Linked DNA regions of Homo sapiens: region 2 is linked to region 1. The links are contacts of gene promoters, found by promoter capture Hi-C in human tissues and cell types (Jung and others, 2019). All regions are on one chromosome and are shown on one strand. Each heading gives the region's core, a stretch centred on a gene start or on the middle of the fragment in contact. The rest is flanking DNA. Distances are from core to core; before and after follow the strand shown. Region 1 holds the start of MTNR1B (melatonin receptor 1B). Region 2 overlaps SLC36A4 (solute carrier family 36 member 4).

Region 1 (7,014 bases), core at 2,986-5,485:
TTAATTTTCCCCCACTACCTGGTGTCTTATCCATTTCCAATTTAATCAGAGATGTGTTCTGTTCTTACTATGTGTCTGGCTCTGTGGACAGAAACTGAATGAAAGTGTCTGCTCTCAGCAGGTACACGGTCCAGCGGGGAGAGACAAAGAACAATAGTACAGTGAGGGGGATGCTGTACTGGGGAGGGCACAGGTATCTTAGAAGCCCAACAAGGGAGACACTTACTATCCCCTTCATGGTATTAATAATCAACATTGATAATCCTTCAGGGGAGTTGGGGAAGGAGTTGAAGGAGGAGCAGCTGTTGACTGGGCAGAAGAGGTAGAGAAAGTACATCAGGGAGTGCAGACCCTTTGGGAAGTAGCAGCAGCTCACTGTGACACTGGTGAGAGGAGGGCAATGAGGCTGTAAGTTAGGTGGGCTAGGCCAGCCGCAAATGGCCGTGGGAGCTGTGCTCTGGAGTTGGACACTGTTCTGGAGATGGAGGGCAGCCACTGAAGACAGGGAAACTCTTGGCAGTGGTAACAGTGGCTGGGGGAGGGAGCAGGAAAAGCTCTCAAGCACTATGGATAGTGTTTGCTCAAGAGATGATGAAGGCATGAAGTGGGGCAGTAAGAATAAGGAGGCAGGAAAGGGAGAAATTGAGAAATAGTGGAAGGTAAAATCATTAGGACATGTGGAATGAAAGAGTAGGAGGAACCAAAGATGACTTTCAGGGCACAGGTATCCGGGAGATGAAGAGAAAAAGGAGATCCAAAAACTAGCACCAGGTTAGCCGAGGGAATGAAAGGTCCCACAGAGGGAGTGGCCCTCAGTGTCACACACAGCACAGAGGAACATTTCCAGAGAATGGCGCCCAGAGGACTGAGGAAGGACGGGAAGCAATGGGGTAGAACCAGTAGATGTCCACAACTACATTAAAATGTCTGGCTGAAAAGGGAGGGAGAGAGGTAGTGATGAAGTTAGGAGGACATGAAGTCAAGAAAAGAGTCTTTTGTTCTTTTAAAACAGGAGACTTTGTGTATCGTGTGTGTGTGTAACATGGAGGAAGTTTCCAGAAGAGAGAAAGGAAGAGCTCAAAAATGCAAGAGATAAATATTAGCGAGGTGTAGCTCAAGGGTCAGGGCAGCAGTGGTGAGCCCAGGAGGGAAAGTTCTCAACGGCTCTCAGTAGAGTCAAAAGTGTGGCAAGTCCCTGGGAAGCACAATCTGACAGGCGTGAGGTGCCAACCCAGTGCCATGGGCTGTGCAAGACTCTGAGAATGTAGCAAAGAGTGAACACACTTGGCCTTACCTTTTAAGTTGGGTCGGTGCCCTGACCCTACCTCCCACCTTGCCTCCACTCCTCCCTGTCTGCCTTTCTCTGGTGCTATCTCTGAAGTCAACCCACCACATGCAGCAACAGACACTACAGATAGGATATCCCTGAAAAAAAAAAGACAATTAATCTAACCACTCACCCTGCCATCAGGAGCGGCACTGTTAGGAATGATACAGATCTGCTCCATAGAGGAACTGGGTTTGTGATAGGCAAGTAAAGGATACTGGTGTCTCCTGGGAAACATGCTGTGACCTCAATATGGGCTATGTATCTTGGTTATTGGAAATATATGTATTCTCATTGTTACAGACTTAATTTTTTAATACCAATGATTTAAGGAGCCAGACTTAAGTACAGAAAGGTCTGAAGAAGCGTTTCTTAAATTAAATCCAAACTCTTCAGTAAGACAAGGCCTGATTAAGAGTAGAATGTGTGCTAACTATTCAAAGAGCTGTAGGTTTTAAGCGCCTTTTGAAATCTCACTCTGCTGAGATCATTTAGTTCAAGTCAGTACTACAATTGTTTGTGACTGTCACCAATAAAGCCAGAGGTCACATAAGAACTGGTTAAATTGCAAGACTGCAGCAGTGGCAGGAATTGATGTCATTTAGATATAGTGTTATTATTATTTTTTTTTGTTCGGGTGCTGGGCTGTAGCGGACACATCAGGAGGTAGGAAAGATAGAACAGAGGATATGCCAGCAATTTAACATGCTCATGACCCTCCCCAGTGATGCTCTTAAACTGGTTAGGTTTCTGCAGACCCTGCCAGGATCACAGAAAAGGCCAGCCCTCTGTAGGATGCAGGAGGGGAGGGGTGCTTTTCTCCTTCCAGCAAAAGGAAGCAACTCCTACTTCCCTCAACCACCTTTCTCATGGTGGGCAATCCAAATTACTGAGCAGGGAGCCATGGCCTGACAGACCTGCTCTAAATACTCAATAAGTCAGGGACAGAAGGGGCCAATGTCAGAACCAGGAGGACCCATTTCTCCCCCATAGAGCCAGGAGTTGTCTCCCTTTTGCTTCCCTGTGCTGGAAATGAATGTTTATGATGGCTGCAAGGGACAATGTGTCAAAAATATTAAATGCAGTTTTCTAATCATAACCTGTTTTTCCCTAATATATAAGCTTTTCTTCAAAGGACACAATATTTTGAACAATGTATTCCAGAAAACAGCCACCACTACTGAAGTGAGTTAGAAAGTTTACTTCTTCTTAATAATGTTATGTTTCCCATATGATGGCTGGATACTCACAGTTGGAGGAGTTTCTTGTTTGTTTTTTTAGCTAAAAATCCTAGAGTTGGCCGGGCGCAGTGGCTCATGCCTGTAATTCCAGCACTTTGGGAGGCCGAGGCGGGTGGATCACTTGAGGTCAGGAGTTCGAGACCAGCCTGGCCAACATGGTGAAATACTGTGTCTACCAAAAATATAAAAAATTACCTGGGTGTAGTGGCGAGCGCCTGTAATCCCAGCTACTCGGGAGGCTGAGGCAAGAGAATCCCTTGAACCTGGGAGGCAGAGGTTGCAGTGAGCCTAGACCATGCCACTGCACTCCAGCCTGGGTGACAGAGTGAGAGACTCCATCTCAAAAAAAAAAAATTTCTAGAGTCACAGGCCACACCAAATACATATTACTATTTGCTAAAAATGGTCTGACTCCTTAGAAAAGCATTTTTAAGCTATATGGTTGTTTTACTGCTGCTATCTTTCCATTTTAATTCACTCTAATATTTGAATTTGCTCCCAAGGCCCAACTTGAAGAAACTGCAAAATTAACAAACAGGTGACTGAGCTCCTTCCTAAGCTGAAGTGGTCATCATGCCCCATGACCTGTGAGGGCTAGAGTTCAGATACTGCCCCCCACTCTGGTTTTGTTTCTTTGAAGACCTGACTAGGGGAATATTGAAATGAGAGTGGATTGAAATAGGAAAAATATTTTCAGGATTACAACACGATTTAGCCAAATCATTGCTTTAATTTTCACAGTTAATCCCAGGAATTCCCAGTCTTCGGAAAAGACCACAATATTTCAAAGCAATTTAGTTCAGTCCAAGCAGAATCTGCAATTTCTGCATTTACTCTCCGTCAACTGGAATTGGGTCTTCAGATGACCTGGAGATAAGTTTTTGACACAAAACCTACTGAAATGCTTCCATTGATTAACTCATTTTTTCAGCAAGGATTTTCTAAGCGACTACTACATAAAGCTACAGTGCTTGGCAAGGAAGGAAGTGGGATGTCAAGTACAGGTGGTGAGATTTCTGTGGCCTGATGTGGGCACCTCTGGAAAGACACGCATTGGAGCGCGACGGGGTAGCGATGGCATCCAGCAGCGTGGGTTCCCACAGCGCCGGCGCCCGGCCAAAAAGCGCGCCAGTAAAACTTTCCGCAATTCCCTCTGTGCCAAGCGCGTCCTGGGCAGCCGCACTTCGGAGGGGCAAAACTCACCCTAACTTTTGAGTGCAGAGTCAAACTTAAGGAATAGGTTAGAGTGAAGGGAAAGGGGAGCCCGGGCTGAGGAGGGAAAAGGCAGCGCATATCCCGGGGTCAGGGACAAGATCAGAAGACAAGGAAGGGCCCGATGCCAGCACCCAGCATCAGGAATGGTGCTCACCTGCGTTCCGGAGCTTGCGGTTCCTGAGCACGGAGAGGATCACCAGGAGGTTGCCCACGACGTCCACGGCGGTGGTGACGATGAGCACCGCGGACAGCGCTGGAGCCACCCAGGGAGGTCGAGGGGTCCTGGAGGGCCGCGCGCTGCCAGCCCCCGACCAGCCCGGGCGCACTGCCCACCCGCCCGCCTCGCAGCAGTTGGCGAAGGAGCCGTTCTCTGACATCGCAGACTCTCCCGCGCTGTGCTTTGGCCACCGCGCGGCCCCGGACAGCCGCAGGGCGCGCGCAGTACTGAGCCGGGCGCTCTCTTCCCTGCCCAGCTCGCGTGTGCAAGGGAGGAGGCCAGTGGGGAGGGGTCTGGAGGAGATAACTAATTAAGCGTGGGCAGGGGATGGAGAAAAATATAGGAATGGGAGGAGGACTTGGGGTGCAGCCGTTGTAGAAGGGAGTGCGTCCCTCAGCGGTGCGCTCAGGAACAGCTGGGACCGCACAGCTGTCTCTGCCACCCCGAGCCCAGCAGGTGCCTGGCCCACCTCAGGCTGCGGAGCGCGTCTAGCTTCTGTCCCTGAGTATATAGCCACACCCGAGACCCCGATTTCCTCCACAGCGTCCCCAAGAGAAGCTGTGTCTAGGTAGGGACGTCCAACCCAGGTTGATAGACTGGAGAAGGTGCTGATGGTAGGGACCTCCCATCAGTTGTCAAGAAAGGCAAGGTTTGACGTCCCATAGGGCTGTGCAGCCCGAAAGAGAATGCAACTCCTAAGATGTGGGGACAGAGCCCAGAACAAAGTAGGGTAGACTGTTATATTCTAGGGAGCTGCAGAAAAATACGAACCTAGCCATTTTCCAAGCACTCGCTGGGTATTGTGGGGGGCATTGATGATGTCTCTACTGGGTCCTCTTTATAAAGCCAATACTTTAACATATTTACCAACATATATTTACACATAATACTTAAATAGATGTATGGCCAATATTGGGGGTTATGATGTGGTTTTTGGAGGGGTTAGGACAAGAAGAAGATTGAGGCATGATTACAATAAAGAAGGAACTCAGGTGCCCTTTATTAAAAATGTTTGAGTCGTGATCTGGTGATAATAATAATAGATAACTTCTAATGGGGGCTAATCTTATGACCCCAAAGCACTTTTCACACCCATTAGAATCACTAAAATCAAAATGACTGATTATCCTATATTTGTGGAGGAAGTTAAGCAACCAGAACCCTCATACACTGCTTTTATGAGAATGCAAAATGGTATAGCCACTTTGAAGAGCTGTCTGTTAGCTCCTAATAAAGTTAAATATACACCTATTCTATGACCAGAAGTTCCAAATGAAAAGGAAAGTATATTTCCACCAAAAGACCTGTACAAGAATGTCCAGAGCAGCCTTGTTTATAGGAGCTCAAATCTGGTAACACCTGCAATTTCCACCAACAGAAGAATGGATAAGCAAATTATGGTATGACCTTGCAATGGAATACTACTCAGCAATAAAGATGATTGACCTACACAACAGCATGGATTAATCACAAATATGTTGTATTGAACAAAAGAAGCCAGATACCAAAAAATATATACCATATTATTCCAGTTATAGGAAGTCCAAAATCAGGGAAAATTAATCTATTTTCTAATAGAAATCAGAAAAGTGGTTACATTTGAGGGTGGGTATTGAGAAACAAACACCAAAAAATTTCTGGATTGTTATTTTTACATATGTTATTTTACGTAAGTTATATTGCCCCTCTCCTTTAAAGGGGGGAAAAAAAGAAGGAAGGATGCAGTGGAGACGGAGGGGCTGATGATGCAGAGGCATGAGTGGATGTTGAAGGGAAGGGAGAGGGAAGGGAGAGGTGAAGTGAGCTCATCCTTGAAGTGAGCTAATCCAGAACTCCTTAAAGTGAGCTCATCCAAAACCCAAGGAAGAAATATTATTTGTTAGGAGAGGGAGGCTTTCTTTCTTGTAGTAGAAAGGAATCAGAAGCCAGATGCAAATTCAGATGCACTTCTAAACTGGTGTGAGGAAAGAAGAGAACTCTTGTCTGGCTTCTGTATTCTCAGGGAGATAGAGGCTACCCATTAGCCAGGATTCAGGGGAACAGTGTAGGAGATTTGAAGACAAAAAAAAGATATGAAGGAGCACTTCAGAAAGTGGAAACATTAACTAGTAAAGTATAACAGGCGTGTCAGGAGCATGAATGTCCCCCTGCAGCTTGAGATGATGGCTTCAAATGATGCCACTCAGCCTGGCCAGTGGTTGTTAATCAGCAACTTGGAGCTACTCAGGACAGGCATGGAGAAGGCAGAGTGAATTTCAGTCAGGATTGGGGTCTGCTGGGTAGGAGCAAATAACAGAAGAAAGTTCAGGGGCCTGGTGAGAAGATGGATCCTGGGGTTTACATTAATGAGGGGTGATGAGAAAACAGAGGGGCTGATGGGCTGTGAGACAAAGGAAAAGTCAAGAGATTGCAGGCCCTGTGACTTCAAGGAATTGTGGTGAGTGAATCAGAAAATGTAAGTTGTGGTGCTGAAAGGGTGAGTTGTTTGAAACTGAGATGTCTGAGGCATGTAGATTCTGTTGCTGTGAAGGCTCTGAGGGTGATTATGGGTAGTGGGTTGCTGGTGGAAGGTGAGAAAAATGTTGTTAGAGATGAGAAGGTAAAGGAACTGAGAAGTCGGGGGTGGATATTATGGTGGGGTAAGAAAAGGAAAACTATGAGTCAGGAGGCGAATCCCCAGTGAATGAGGAGGAATGACCAACATGTCCTCAGGAGAGCAACAGCAAAGGGGAAAGAGACACCAATGGGCAGTGTCAAAGCCAAGAGGCTTTTTCAGGAAGAAGAGACAGCCACGCCTTCCCTGTCTTACAGGTGCAAACACATCGTGGCACTTCTCAACTTTCACACGCCAACATAGCAATAGGTGAGTTGGACACAGTATAAGTTACCTCCATCCAGACACACCCTCTAATAACACACATTTGTTAAACTGAGCATGAAACATAGGAATTTGCCCTATGCTGCCTTGGAATGTGATTGTCCATAATAGCATATCTCAAGATAGGCACAAAGAA
Region 2 (7,014 bases), core at 1,166-3,665, 190 kb before region 1:
TAAATATATTATTACCACATTTTAAAAATACATAAGTGAAAAGATAATTAATTAGAAAAAGGAATGTCCTGTTAAACTAATTAACTAACAAGAATATTTGTTTAATTATCCACAGTTACATATCAGAGTATAGGAAACACGTGTCTTTCAGTTATGTGGTATATATTTGGTAACTTGACCATTTATGTGTAACCTTTAAGCCTCAAGCTGAGAAATACATCCTTAGCTAATTTTTAAAATTAAGTTTTAAATGTTGTTAGCTCTAAGGAGTTCTTTCCTTCCTAATTGTGATGTGTATCTTCAAATCTGTTTTTATTCAGCTCTTAAATTTCTTCTTACTCTTGTATGATAAATATGTTATAGCAGAATACTATTGAATCTCTTCTTGCTTGGCCATAGTTTACAGGCTGTTTATAATCCTTATTACTCTCACCACTTCTGTTCAACATAGTATTGGAAGTCCTGGCCAGAGCAATCAGGCAAGAGAAAGAAACAAAGGGCATCCAAATAGGAAGAACTGCAAGATCTGCAAACTATCCCTGTTTTCAGATGACATGATCCTATATCTCGAAAACCCCATAGTAAGCCCAAAGGCTTCTTAAGCTGATAAGCAACTTCAGCAAAGTCTCAAGCTGCAAAATCAATGTGCAAAAAACATCAACATTTCTATACACCAATAACAGTCAAGCTGAGAGCCAAATCTTTATGTGGCAATTGTGAATGGTATTGTGTTGCCACAATTCACAATTGCCACATAAAGAATAAAATACCTAGGGATACAGCTAACCAGGGATGTGAAAGATCTCTACAACAAGAATTACAAAACACTGCTCAGAGAAATCAGAGATGACACAAACAAATGGAAAAACATTCCATGCTCATGGATAGGAAGAATCAATATCATAAAAATAGCCACACTGCCCAAAGCAATTTATAGTTTTAATGCTATTCCTATTAAACTGCCATTGACATTCTTCACAGAACTAGAAAAAACTATTTTAAAATTCATGTGGAACCAGAAATGAGCCTGAAGGGTCAAGGCAGTCCTCAGCAAAAAGAACAAAGCTGGAGGCATCACACTACCCAACTCTAAACTATACGAGAGGGCTGTAGTAACCAAAACAGCATTGTACTGGAACAAAAACAGACACATAGACCAATGGAACAGAATAGAGAGCCCAGAAGTAAGGCCACACACCTGCAACTATTTGATCTTTGAAAAACCTGACAAAAACAAGCAATGGGGAAAGGATTCGCTATTCAATAAATGGTGCTAGGATAACCAGCCAGCCATATGGGATAGACTGAACTGGACCCCTTCCTTACACCATATACAAAAAATTAACTCAAGATGGAGTAAAGGCTTAAATGTGAAACCCCAGACTATAAAAACCCTGGAAGAAAATACCATTCTGGACATAGGAATGGGCAAAGATTTTATGATGAAGACTCCAAAAGCAATTGCAACAAAAGTGAAAATTGACAAATGGGATCTAATTAAACTAAAGAGCTTCTGCACAGCACAGAAAACTATCAACAGAGTGAACAGGCAACCTACAGAATGGAAGAAAATTTTTGCAAACTATGCATTGAACAAAGGTCTAATATCCAGCATTTAAAGGAACTTCAAGAAATTTATAAGAAAAGAATCTCATTAAAAAGTGGGCAAAGGGCTTGGGAGGCCAAGGCGGGCAGATCACAAGGTTAGGAGTTTGAGACCAGCCTGGCCAATATGGTGAAACCCCATCTCTACTAAAAATACAAAAATTAGCCAGGTGTGGTGGCAGGCGCCTGTAGTCCCAGCTACTTGGGAGGTTGAGGCAGGAGAATCGCTTGAACTGGGGAGGTGGAGGTTGCAGTGAGCTAAGATTGAGCTGCTGCACTCCAGCCTGGGCAACAGAGTGAGACTCCACCCCAAAAAAAAAGAAAAAAAAAAGTGGGCAAAGGACGTGAACAGACACTTCTCAAAAGAAGACATACATGCCGCCAACAGTCATATGAAAAAAAAATGCTCAACATTACTGATCATTAGAGAAATGCAAATCAAAACCACAGTGTGATACCATCCCACACTTGTCAGAATGGCTATTACTAAAAAGTCGAAAAATAACATGCTAGTGAGCTTATGGAGAAAAAGGAACAACACTTATTATAAACTGTTGATGGGAGTATAAGTTAGTTCAAGACATTGTGGAAGACAGTGTGGCGATGCCTCAAAGACCTTAAAACAGAAATGTCATTTGATCCAGTAGTCCCATTACTGGGTTTATACCCAAAGAAATATAAATCATTCTATTAGAAAAACACATAAATACCTTTGTTCATTGCAGCACTTTTCACAATAGCAAAGATACGGAATTAACCTAAATGCCTGTCAGTGATAGATTGGATAAAGAAGATGTGGTACATATACATCATGGAATACTATGCAGCCATAAAAAAGAATGAGATAATGTTCTTTGTAGGAACATGGATGGAGCTGGAGGTCATTACCCTTAGCAAACTAACATGGGAACAGAAAACCAAATACCACATATTCTTACTTATAAGTGGGAGCTAAATGATGAAAACGCGGACACATGGAGGGGAACAACACACACTGGGGCCTATTGAGGGTGAAGGGTGTGAGGAGGGAGAGGATCAGAAAAAATAACCAATGGGTACTAGGCTTAATACCTGAGTGATGAAATAATCTGTACAACAAGCCCCCATGACACAAATTTACCTATATAACCTGCACATGTACCCCTGAACTTTAAAAGTCAAATTAAAAAATCCTTACTACTTTAAGTCTTAAGACATCAGAAATAAAGCTCCATTAATGTCGACATTTATATACTTATATATTAAGTACATTTATACTTAAAGCTTCATTAATGTCAAGGTTTATATACCTTGACATTATATACCAAAAGTAGAATATAATCCTTTTAAAATGATTGCATTTTTTTGTAAGAAAGAAAACACTCTTCCCTGTGCATGGGAATTTTAGGTGGGAAAGTAGAACTCTTAAATGAGAAAACCGTGGGAAGATGTTTCTGCTGAAAGAGGACATATGTGTTAATCACTGCCCCGAAGTTGCAGCACACTGAACCCACAGTGTTTTCTCTGCTTTGTTACTTAAAAAATGCAAGATGGTTGGGTTTTTCTTTTGAATTTTATAAAATATTAAAATGTTTTTTTAAATACAGCATATTAATTTTATTATTCTGCAACCCTAAAGAGTGGATTCTGTAATGTTTCTTCCTCTAGGTCCTACAATTCTGTTTTCTCTTCATGTCATTAACGTTTAAAAAGTCTTCTTTTTCTGGGCTTAAGAAAGTTACTGAAGTCTTTATCAAGACATGCATGCGAAGTTTTGACAGGAGGTTATCCATAATGTAGAAATCTAAAGATATTTATAAAACTGAAAATTGCTGTGCTGTTTTGAAGCACTGTATATCAAAGAGATAAGTTAATTTGCCCAAAAGAATAACAACAACCTTACCCAGCAACTGTATGTCTCTTATTTAATGTAATTTTAAACAATAGATTGTATGTGTAATTTAGAGAACTTAGCAAGTTGAAACCGTTTAGATGTCTGCTTTTAGACTTAAGATGGATGACATTTCTGCAACTGATGACATACCTCCAAAGATTTTCACCCAAGAACTATACTTAAGTTTAATGTGAGTTTTTCTTCTATGTAAAGATCAACGAGGGTATGACTCAGGATTTAAGACATATAGTAGGCTCAGTTTTTAAAAAGAAAGTTGAGAAAACTTTAGCTCTTTGAGGGGCTGAGTCTAACCTTCAGAATATTGGCTTATCCCAAAGTGAAATCTTTTTACCACTATACCCTAAACCCTGGCATGCATGTTCAAGCTTTCCAGTCTTGTGAAAATGAATTGTTCTTGTATCATCTAGAAATTTAGTTAGAGATCAATTTGCCTTTTTTACAAACAAGCATTTTTAGTTAGTAAGGTTCTGGCCTAATTTGGTATTCTGGATTTCTTATTTATCTTAATATTAAAAATAAAGGAGGAAAACTAAATTCACATTAAAAATGACTAAATTTTGAAAATTTTTTTCAACAGGTTATATCAATCAGTGAAAATTCTATATTCCTTTGGCATTTTTGTGACATATTCAATTCAGTTCTATGTTCCAGCAGAGATCATTATCCCTGGGATCACATCCAAATTTCATACTAAATGGAAGCAAATCTGTGAATTTGGGATAAGATCCTTCTTGGTTAGTATTACTTGTAAGTATCATTATATATTTATATCATAATAATTTTTTATTGTTCAATTTCTTGAAAGCTATATAAGATGTAATTTCTTAAAATGAAAGCTACATAAGATGTATTTTTCAATATTTTTAAAACAATTTTATTCACCCAGCTGGGTTACTTTTCAGGTTAAAATTCAATTTTTCTACTACTACATAAGAAAAACACAAACCAGATCCTATCACACTTAAAATAACTAATGAAGTTATTTTGAAAATTACATTACTGGTGATTAAAATAATGTGTACATGGGACCCCTTCCATTTCTGATACACATTTTATTTTGGTTCTAGTTTTTCTCAGGTTTTTCATTCCTGTTTTTGTATATTTTAACAGTTTACTTCTTCATAACTACCTACAGGAAAGTGTTTAATTTTACTTGTATTGGTCTTTCATAATTTTAGTGTCTTATTTTCTTATTATTTGAAGAAGTGTATATAATCTTTTATTAAGACTCTTCATCATAAAATGCCTTCTCAAGGTAGCATTCATAATAGAGACTCATGGAAAGGGAGCTTGAGTTCAGTATAGTGGAAAGAGTGTAAGTTTTGGAGTCAGACAGATCTGGGAATTCAAAGTCAAGCCTATCACTTACTCGGTGGTGTCTTTAGGCAAGTTACATGCCATTGTTGAGCCCCTCTTTCCTCAACTGTGAAATGAAGATAAAACTTCCTTATGGCATTTTGATGGGGTTAGAAATAATATTAACAAAGTATTAATAGCTGGAAGTTATGATCATTATTGTAACCATTACTGTAACTACAAATATACAGATGATTACATCACCAAACTAAACTGGGATTGCCTAAAATGATACCAGGGACCAGATTACTAGTGTTCTGGGGAACAAGCAGCTTTGGAAATTCCTTGTGTAAGATATTAATAAACATCTTGCACTATTTAGAATAGTAGAGCTAGAAATTCGGGGCAACTCAATAAATTGATTTGAGCAGCCTGCCATGGAGCTCATGCCTAGATTTAAAGAATTGAGTGTATTATATTTTGTTTGAAATGGGAAATGCAAAGCTGAAAAAGTAGATAAAATGTATTTTTCGAAGTAATTACTTAAATGAATTATATCACTAATAAGAGAAATCATATTAACAAATGAAGTCAATAAGCCCATACTCTGATGACAAATGAAAAAACATTCAGTAGGAAAAAGATATTTTAAGACATTTTGAAGTATTTTTATACATTTATTTTATTGACATTTTGGTAATGACTAAATAAAAAGACTAATTTCAGTAAAAGTGTTTTTATCAATAGATGTAAGACAATTCTATTCTGAAAGTATATCGTCTTTTAAAGTTGGTAATGGAAATTCAGGTAAAGGAGTTTGAGGGCAATGGGAAAAGGGGTCTAGGATTTTTTTATAACTTCACCCATTTCTGTATATTGGCTGGCATTGTTGTATTGAAGTTATGAATCAGCTGAGGCACAGACCACGCCACATCTGCTTCCATGAGTTTGTTTCCAGAAGCCAGGGGCTTAGTTCATAGCACAGAGAACTGCAGCCTTTTCTTGGCTGCTGCTTTCTTTTAGTTAAAAGTCATTAAAGCTTCTCATCCATATATGGGATATGCCTTGGAGAAAGGGAACAAAAACTGTAATATTTCCTTCTGCTATATTGGGACACATCACTGGACACTGAACCTGAACTTCATTTGTGTCTTTGGCACATATCCTTCCAAATTAAAGTAAAAGCCAACTGATATTCATGGCAAAACTGCTTTTTAATTCTGTTTTCCAAAGCACTTGAAAAGATTTGGGGGCGTACACTTTACTGATAAATGTGTGTAGACAGTTGATGGGACTTTGTCATGTTTGTAGAGTAGGCTGTGCAGCAGCACTAGCAATGAGAGTGGAGGCTCAGCCTGATTTGCATTGAAAATTGAATGTCTTTCAATGTTCCATAATCCTTTCCAAGTACTGAATCCATGTTTGTTGTATTAGTCCTTAAAGAAGTGGACTTATCAGCTTGGATTATGTTGGTTGTGTCCAAGTATCCATTTAGCATTTGAATCATGATCTCAAAATATCTTCTTAGTGAAATTCAAAAACTTTAGAAATGATTCAGACTCCTCCTGCGTGTTCCCTTTAGGTGCTTACCTGGTATATAGGCACCTCACAAGTGAGGGAGGAGGGACGGTAGAAACCAGCCAAAGGTCACCATGGACATAAATACCTTTTAAGAGTAAACCTGTACTATGAGCCATTACATTTTTAAATGTATTATAATAAACACTGAGACCAGTGTTTCAATTCTGTGTATGAATTGAATCAACAAAATATACTAAGTACTATTTACTTCTGTTACTCTCTAATTTGTTGATCCTTCTACTGTTTGTAATTTTTTAAAAGTCCTTGTTTTTATAATCTATAGTAGACTATGACTTTATAAGTATCAAAACCTATAAATCTTTAGTAGTTTGTAGAGAAAACCCACTAAAATCCTTCATTTAAGTTAGTTGCCTCTGCAGACTAGAAAAGTACCATTCTGTTTCCTGATATCCTGTCTTAGAGTCGGTATGTGGAGAGCACCATTAACTATTTGTATAATTAAAATGAATGTGCTAAGTTATTTTCCACATTTTTGTTTTTGGTGCTGTAATATCAAGTGCTTTGTTTTGTGTTCTGATGTATCTGCATTTACCCTTCAGATGCAAATAATGGACCTAAATAGGCTTTTATTTTAATATCAGAGGGAACTTTATGCTCTAAGGATACATTCTTTTTCT

Evidence for each region. The method cuts DNA at HindIII sites, captures the fragments that hold promoters and counts their contacts. A contact is called where the count stands out against the background at its distance.
Region 2: a fragment that was not itself captured here is called in contact with the fragment with the promoter of MTNR1B in region 1 in 1 of the 25 tissues and cell types used here (mesendoderm cells).

Annotation. Positions count from the first base shown.
Region 1 is chr11:92,966,872-92,973,885 of GRCh38, reverse strand. It overlaps MTNR1B (melatonin receptor 1B), which reads right to left and starts at 4,235. Exons shown (of 2, transcript NM_005959.5): 1 at 3,938-4,235. The coding sequence starts at 4,160. It overlaps LOC124902733 (a long non-coding RNA gene), which reads right to left. Exons shown (of 2, transcript XR_007062838.1): 2 at 4,971-7,014. RefSeq lists an enhancer at 3,188-3,687. The HindIII fragment of the contact is 7,785 bases long and covers 1-7,014 here.
Region 2 is chr11:93,151,340-93,158,353 of GRCh38, reverse strand. SLC36A4 (solute carrier family 36 member 4) reads left to right here. Exons shown (of 11, transcript NM_152313.4): 10 at 4,077-4,246. Among named protein-coding and RNA genes, the nearest start is that of SLC36A4, 43 kb to the left of the region's middle. The HindIII fragment of the contact is 4,868 bases long and covers 1-4,849 here.